2 separate regions of the Homo sapiens genome follow, and region 1 is linked to region 2. Evidence: promoter capture Hi-C in 16 types of primary human blood cells and fetal thymus (Javierre and others, 2016). All regions are on one chromosome and are shown on one strand. The core of a region is centred on a gene start or on the middle of the fragment in contact, and the rest is flanking DNA. Distances in the headings are between cores, read along the strand shown.

Region 1 (4,446 bases), core at 8-2,507, 110 kb after region 2:
TCATTAAATATCATTCAATAGTTTTAAATCTCAAAAGGAAAAGTTTGAAATCTCAATCATTTTCTTCTGGCCAGGCACGATGGCTCACGCCTGTATTCCCAGCACTTTGGAAGGCAGAGGCAGGTGGATCTCCTGAGCTCAGGAGTTTGAGACCATCCAGTGCAACATGGTGCAACCCTGTCTCTACTAAAAATACAAAAAAAATTAACTGGGTGTGGTGGGGCACACCTCTAGTCCCAGCTACTTGGGAGGCTGAGGCAGGAGAATTGCTTGAGCCCCAGAGGTGAAGGTTGCAGTGAGCCAAGATCACGCCTCTGCACTCCAGCTTGGGCTACAGAGTGAGACTCTGTCTCAAAAAAAAAAAAAAAAAAAGAAAAGAAAAAAGAAAAAAAATCATTTTCTTCTCAGAAGTTAATTGTGGGCAGGCTGATTTATTTTGCAAATTTGCCAATTCTGACTTCAAGAACATTCAAGTGCATTAACCAATGGGAATGTAGGGGAAGAGGGCTCCACTCACTTACAGAGGGTAGGATATGGCCTCATACTAGACAAAATGTTATTTGATGCTACTTTCAAGATGATAGGGGATGGGCCTGGATTTAATTGATGGCTATTATGGTGACCTTTAAATAAATGAGATTCAAAGTAACCTGATGTCTTTACTGCTTGAACCAGCTTCCATGAAATAGTATTCCTATTGGGGGTGGGCCTATCATTCCATATGGTCAAGGAAACATCTTTTTGAACAGAGATCCTGTAATCATCCTTACAAACTGCACTTCAACATTGGATTGGATTAGCCAGATTTGAGGAACTCACTTTTTACATCTTCATAAATTTAAAATGTTGAAAAAGTCAGAGGCAAGGGAAGACATTTATAGTACTTCACGGTAGATCTCCCTCAACATGGGCTATATATCCATTAGTCAATATTCTATAGCTATTGTTCTGCAATAAACCAGACAAGATCCTACTGTATTACTACCCTTTTATTCTTGGCCCTACCTTCCCCAAGGAGTTACACATTTTCTAGATAGTCTAAATTAAGAGCAACTCTCATCATACTCTTTTTGAGTGTTTAATTATCAAGCAACAGCCTAACTAAGCCAATAATATTTCTCTTTTTGGGAGTGGAAATGGAAGCTAAGTTGATTGACCCACAGGAACAAGAGGGAACATGCCGTTATATTTTAACCAGTGTGTAAAGAAGGCTGTTATGCAATCAATGATCTGGGTTTTTCTCTTCAGAGAAATTTGTTGTACAGAAAATTGCTGTTGGGATGAAGCTTTGCAGCCTTGCAGTCCTTGTACCCATTGTTCTCTTCTGTGAGCAGCATGTCTTCGCGTTTCAGAGGTAACCCAATAGAATCTTAGACTGTGGTGGGCCACTCTCCTCACTTGTTTGCCTCATGTCGTGTCAAGTCAGTGCACTGAGCTGGTGGACAAAATGGTAAACTTTGAAGGCCAGGTCTTTCAGAACTTTCCAAGTTGCCCTGACAAATAAGTAGACTTTAGCACAATGGGCTATCACTAAAGACAGGGTCTTTTTTCTTTCCTGGCTCTGGTTTTATTATTGGGAGAACCTTGGATGATACGCATATCCAGTGACTATGGAGATTCAAGAAATTAAATCTTTTATAAACGTAACTATTTATACTCTAACTTGATGTATGATTCATATTCTTCCTGTCTTCACATAAAAAAAGTTAACTATGGATCATTTATTTTCCCCTTGTACATGGAACATAGGAGGAAGAAGAGGGTGAAGTGTTAAATAGGAGGTTTGGATCATGCATGATTATTTAGCATGGAATATGAAAGGAAGAAGAGTTGTGTGATAAAGAACTATTATCTGATTCTTATTTTGCTTAGTAGATTCCCTTAGGATAAACTATCTAGAAGAACACAAATGAATTCATGCTATAGCACATGCAATGCATGGAGAAAATAGTTCCAGGGTATATGTAATGTAATTTATTAAGTAGTCAATTTTTAGGCTTTAAAACATTGATATTGTTTCCTTTGGAATTATCTTATTTTTTCCCCTTTGTTTTGGTTCTATGATCGCTTTCTCCTCCAATTATCTTTGAGACAGATCCCTCTCCTCATGTTAGTAAATGACAAAGAAAGAAGAGACATAGGGCAAAGGAATATACCAGTGACAAGGAACATTCTACCACCAAAAAAATGTTCACGGTCATAAATAACCATAGGACAATGGTTTGGAAAATAGATCTTGACTTGTGAGCCTGAAGCTGTGTTTGTACATGATCACTGAACTGATTATAGTTGATTGATCTTCTTTTGTTCAACATGATTGTCGAATGTCGAGCAACAAATTCTATCATAAAATGATATTATTTTTGTTATTTAATTGACGTGGGGGTCAAGATTGCTGCAATGATCAGTGACTTATGTCTTTCTCTGTATTTTATCGGTGAATCATATGGTCAGGATTTCTAAGGTTCTTGCTAGTTCTAATATTCCATAACTTGATAATTGGCTTCAGTTAAGGGAAAGGGGGAGAAGAGAAAAATTGGTATCAACATGTCCAACTTGGCTACTGTACACAGTGGCAGTACCATTGACAGTTAGGGGAAAGGGAGGAAACCTCTGCTTATTTAGTGCCTGTGTTTGTGCCAGGCACTGAACTAGTCACTTAGAAATGTTATCTCTTTAAATGCATAAAATCCTACATGCTAGGAATCTTTACTGACATTTTACAAAGGAGGAAACTGAGCCTCAGGAAGAATAAATAATTGGCCCAAGATCAAACAGTAAATGTAGAGCTTGGATTCAAACCCACTTTAGCCTCATTTCAACTCCATGCACTGGACAGCATTGCCTCCATAAAATCTGGAAATTAGGAAGAGAGCCAGTTTGAAGGAAGGTCAGATTTAGTCAAAGGGAGTTGCAGGCAGCAGTTGGTTTGGAAAGTAGCTTGGAAGAGAGGTTCGGGATTAGAGGTTCAGTCTCATGGTTCTCACCCACTAGCAGATCTAATCATGGCCTTGGCGTCAGCCCAGTGCAATTATCCTCAGCTGGTTGTTGCAGAGGTTGGCGGGCAGGTGGGCTCACTGCAGACCGCCATCTTGATCGTAGAGTAACCCAAACTCTTGGATAGGATAATCAATAGCAAAACACACTAAAAGCTTTAGCACATCTCTTCAAATGAGTACGTGTATAGCAGCTTAGTGACACTAAATATAACGCAAATAGAAGAAGTAGCCAACAATAAAATAGTAAAAAAATGAGTGAGAACATATCTTCATGCATGGGCTTTGTTACTATTTGTTGCTTCAGCTTATACTCTGAAATCTGACTGATACTTATGCTTGAAAAAAGGAATGAGAATGTGACTATATTTTAACCAAAGAATATCACATTAAAAATATTTAATACTTTTGCATACTGCGAGGGTCCCTTTGCAGAGGAGAGGAGGTAGGAGGACCTCAGTATTGTAGACAGATGAATATCTGAATCCTGGTTCCCATCCCTTCACTGGAAATAACATTGCAAACTACTCTTTCTGTGAGTAAAAATAAATTTTTTTACCAAATGTTTCTGTGCTCCACTTTTCCAGGAATGGCCTATTCCTGAAGCTAAAAAGGAAATCTAATTTCATTCAGGGCAACAGACTTTGATAAATTGTTGCTGGGGTTCAGAATATCAACCCTTCTAAAAAAAAAAAAAAAAACTAACAGTCTGGCTTTTTCTTAAAGCTGTTCTTTGTTTTTTTTTTTTTTTTTGTCATAATCATTTTCCTACTAACAGTTTTTATTCATGCAGTCTCTTAGTGGCTGATTTGTAGGTTCATTTTGATAAATTTCATCAGTGAAATGCCCTGGAACAACAACAAGTTTTAAAGGCATAAATATCATATGCCAAAGGGAAAGGCAGCCAAAAAATCATGACTCCATATTCATTTGCTTTTAAAAGCCAAACACTATAAAGGGTAAAAATAAAATACTAGCAAGAATCTTGTAAACAGAATCAGTAATTGTATTGTGCAGTGATTACCTAAATGCAGCCTGCCAGCCCAGACTATTTGGAAAGAGGAAGTAAGAGACACTAGGAAGAAGACTTAGGAATTAGAGAGTGGAGGAGGGTTGAGGATAAAGGGCTTCTGAATTATTAATAGACCACAGGAAGTGTTCCTCTGTTGACTTCACATACTGTTTGGGTACCTGGAGACCAGTTTACTCTCTTTCACTTTGTTCCTACTGATGTATTGTTTTCATCTCAAAGAACAGGCCACCAGTGGCCTTAAAACACTGTAATGTGTGCAACAAAATTGCAGCCTTGGGCTATGTTCCATTGTTCAGAGACATCTTGCCAGCTTTTTAAATTCAAAATAATCTTTCAGAATGGTGAAAGTGTGAACCCTCCCCTGTAAACCATAGCAGGGGATACACCCCAATGAACATAATGACGTTCTCAGAAGGG
Region 2 (4,063 bases), core at 207-2,706:
TCCACGCATGACTGAGAAAGCCCTTTGAGTACCAATTCTGGGGTTACAAGTAAATTTTATCGATGAGATAAACTTGAATCTACTAAGTCCACCAATAAGTATCAGTAAATGCATCTGTGGAATTGAATTGGATGTTATCACCTGACAACAAACATTTGTAAGTTATTAGTGAGTGTATTTATTGTGATTCTGAGCTGTGCAAGTCAAGGAATTTCTATGAAAGATACATAAATGTTAATACACATATCTGATTAATACACATACCTGTATGGGTTTTTTTCTCATGTAAAGACAGCTTAGTGAATTTTGGAGGTAAGGGTCTTCGAAGAAGCAGTGGGGGCTTTTGCATTTTAATGAATAATAAGTGCTGTTTTTCATAATCCTTGGTTTAAATGAGAATTGAAAAGGTTTTGAATATGTTTGAATTGTTGAAAAATAATAAGAATTTAGATTACATCTTAAAGAAAATCATTCTGTACCAATACTCTACTGAATCCAGGCAGAATTCCTTTATGAAAAAAAAAGAGGGTAAGAAAATAATTCTTTAAAACTTCTATTAATAGAAAGAATCCAGTTAAAATGTAGGGTTATAAGTAAACATAGAATTTTAAAAATATGTGTATTATTACTACCCAGGATCATTCTACAATTTTCCATGTTAGTACAAAGTTCAATTTGCCAATGCTATTTCAACTAGTAAATACTGATTTTTCAGAATAGTCGAAATGACATTTTTTTTCTCTCTCTCCAAAATGTTATCGCTATAAATGTAGAAAGAGAATTTGGTCAGAAATGTGTAGAAGATGCCTTCATTAGATAAGCCTCTGAAGACCCACCATATCTAACCATTCACAAACAAATTGTTTTCTTTCTATAATGGCTTGTTTTTCAACCACTATGCTTGGGCCAAAACAATTCAATCCTAAAATAAGATGGGTTTCACTATAATGAGATTTCCCAGGGCTGCTGGATCCCAACTCATACTGTTTAGAAATAATGCGAGAAGATGCACCCCCAAAATGTGCTTTTAGTTTGCAGGGCAACATCAAAAGTGCCTGGCACGGCATTATTCCATTGATAGCCTAGAAGGGAACACCCTGAAACTGCACAAATGGGCCGTTTACCGCCAAAAGATAACTGCACACAAGCGCTCAAGGTGTACTCCCTGGTCATATGTTCCACACGATGCTGGAAATCTCCCTTCCGTAGTACCCAAAGAGGGGCATGGAAGTGCTGGACTCCCACACTACCCTTTAGGATAATCGGCCGCTTTCCAAACCAACTGGCTTTTCGTCTCCTATCTCCTTTTCCTCGGAATCTAGGCAGCGAGGTAAAGGTCCAGCGAGGGTCTTCCTGCAGGAGGCTGTTCCCGAAGAAGCACCACGGATCCCCACCCTCTAGGAGGCCAAGGAGACACACCCTAGCAACCGGGGTCCGCTAAGCCAGCCCAGCCACTTGACGCGCAGGCGCGGGGGCGGGACAGGCGAGGCGGGCGCGGGACAGGCGAGGCGAGGCGGGCGCCGGGAGGGGCAGGCCCAGCCCACGGTGCAGCGCGCGCGGAGCCCTCGCCTTCCTCCGACGCACTGTGGGGCTGCAGGGGAAGCTGCGGGCCGTGGGGGCCGGAGGAGAAGCCGGCTCCACGCGCAGCTGCTGTACGGAACGCCGTGGTGACAATTGTTATTACTATTTTTATGCTTAATGGCAATGACCACTATTATTTATTATTTTCTCTCGATTACAGGATGCTTTACTTGGGTGTCTAGAATATGGGCTGGCATTCTTTAAGGCTGCACTTTTGTGCAGCCGGGTCCCGGGGCTAATTTTGCAGTGCTCTCGAAAAGCGGGCATTCGGTTTTCTTTCTCTTCCTTTCATGCAACCTGTTTTCTCTTTCTGATCCTTTAAAGTTCCTGGCTGAGGCTGGATTGTGTAGAAATAAGGGCATTAGGGATCCAAGCGGGCCATAAAAGAAACCCATTTCTCACTGTCATCGTCCTCTGTTCTGGTTATCATATTGTGACGTGTCGCCTCTGTCATGGTGTTGATGAACCTGTGTGTGCAGTCATAGATACATCGTGTGTGTTTGCAAAAATGTGCGTGTTTCTCTGGAGATTTGAGGGGGAAAGAGCACTAGAAAGAGCTCATCTGATAGATGCGGAAATCCGAACTCAGAAAGTAAACTAGGTAGAGCTTCCTTCCAGGTTTGGTTTTTTCTAAGTACTAGCGCAGGAACTTTATAACAGAAGTTGGAAAATGAGAGACTTCTGTATAAATCTTTCTAGCTTTGGGGATCTTTCAAGATTCACACCATAACCATGTCTTCCTTTTTCTCCTTAGTAGCAAACATGTTTTAAAACAATCAATGAAAAAAGTAGAAAAGTTTTAACAAAAAAGTAATCAGACTCTGGAAAATATTATGCAACTTGTTTTCCTTTACAGTAGTAGTGTACTGTTTCTTTTCCTTGTAAGTTTACTGTGTCCCAATTATACTGCTGCCCCAGACTATGAATTTATTTCCACTTTTGCTGTTATCTACACCATAGATTCATTAGTTTCTCAGAAATACAAAGCTGAAAATAAAAGGCAGCTCTGTGGCTAAGATTAGTCTCAAGTAATATATATCGTGCATATTTTGTAAATGTGAAAAAAGGTTTATATTTTTAAGCATAAAAAATGACAGTGTAAATTGAGTCAGGTACCTATGCTCTTCAAGATCGTTGGAACCATGAGAACTACAGGAATTCAGTTTTACTGACTGACGTTTGGCCTTTAAAATTTATGCTTAGCTTTGTGTAGTCGAAAGCAAGGCTTCTGAATGCTTTTTCAAAAAATGCTTTGTCACACTTGGAATCCGCAGGCATCCAGGTATCATTCCTTGCAGATTTCTTCTAGCAAGTATGAGACTAAAACCTAGGGCGGTTTAATATGTAATCTCAGGTGTGAACATTTTGTCTTCTATTTCTACCACTTAGTACCAAACATTTAGGCAAATGAGATAGTTATTATGAAAATTAAATCCATGGCTTGGTATATTTTATATGTATATATGTTATTCTAACACATCTGACTCGCTTTGTCTATGGAAATGATATATCAGTATAGGATGAGTTTAGACAGGACAAACAAAATTCAATTTAGATTATTTTATAGTTCTTATATTTTTGAAAATATTATCCCCTCAATTTTCTTTCTTCTTTTGTAAAATAACGTGTTTTTGAAATAATGAATAACTCCCTTTTGGATTTTAAGGGTCTGCTTTTTCTGATGTATGTACGGTCAGCCTATTTATTTGTTCCGTCCCCTTTGCAGTTTGGCAGAACCTTATGAAGAAGCTTCCCAAACTGAACCACAGTGCTTTCACTCTATTAGCAAATTGTACTAAAGATGCCAGCGTAATGATGAGTGCCAAGGTTATAGACATCCTGCATTTTTTAAATGTTGCTAAAATGAGATAAAAGCCTTATGCAGAAGCAACCGCAGGCACCCCGCAGGTAATGCTATCGATTTCCCTAATAAGTGGGAAACGCTTGGGGAACCTTAGATTTGCTGTTGGTTCTGTTGAAATGGTGGAAGTGATGTGAAAAGTGTTGCTAGACAACTTCATTATTTTCCATAGACCTATCTCTTATTTATTTATTTCCCTTTAAAATAGGACAGAGGTTTGCTAAACAGTTTGGCCATTGTAGTTTTAACCTAATATTTTACCTTATGGAAATAATGGAGTAATTTGTGTTTTTATGTTCATATTAATTTTTTTAAGTACTGTTAAAGAATGAATAGTTATTTTTGAGCACATATTTGTTCAACTACTGAGTCTCCAGAGTAACACAGGGCACTAAAATGCTTTTGAGAAAGAAGTGTTTTATTGGTCTGAATTTACCTGTTTATATTAATTATATGTACGGGGAAATGTCTTCTTCAGTCACAGTGGCTTAAATGTACCCACTTATTTCATGTGTTTTCATGCTGTTGCCTAGAGAATAGTTTTATATTTTCTCAAATGTTAATAAAGATATTTTGAAGAAGCTGCTACTCTTTTTATCCCCATATCTCACTGTAAAGACA

What was found. The method cuts DNA at HindIII sites, captures the fragments that hold promoters and counts their contacts. A CHiCAGO score of 5 or more calls a contact.
Region 1: the fragment with the promoter of CPB2 here is called in contact with the fragment with the promoter of LRRC63 in region 2 in 1 of 17 cell types (neutrophils); the score reaches 5.3 in neutrophils.

Annotation. Positions count from the first base shown.
Region 1 is chr13:46,101,844-46,106,289 of GRCh38, reverse strand. It overlaps CPB2 (carboxypeptidase B2), which reads left to right and starts at 1,257. Exons shown (of 11, transcript NM_001872.5): 1 at 1,257-1,354. The coding sequence starts at 1,281. The HindIII fragment of the contact is 3,608 bases long and covers 1-1,288 here.
Region 2 is chr13:46,209,321-46,213,383 of GRCh38, reverse strand. It overlaps LRRC63 (leucine rich repeat containing 63), which reads right to left and starts at 1,456. Exons shown (of 10, transcript NM_001282460.2): 1 at 1,125-1,456; 2 at 265-382. The coding sequence starts at 349. It overlaps LOC107984578 (a long non-coding RNA gene), which reads left to right and starts at 1,532. Exons shown (of 4, transcript XR_001749863.3): 1 at 1,532-3,489. RefSeq lists a silencer at 1,371-1,700. The HindIII fragment of the contact is 5,320 bases long and covers 1-3,332 here.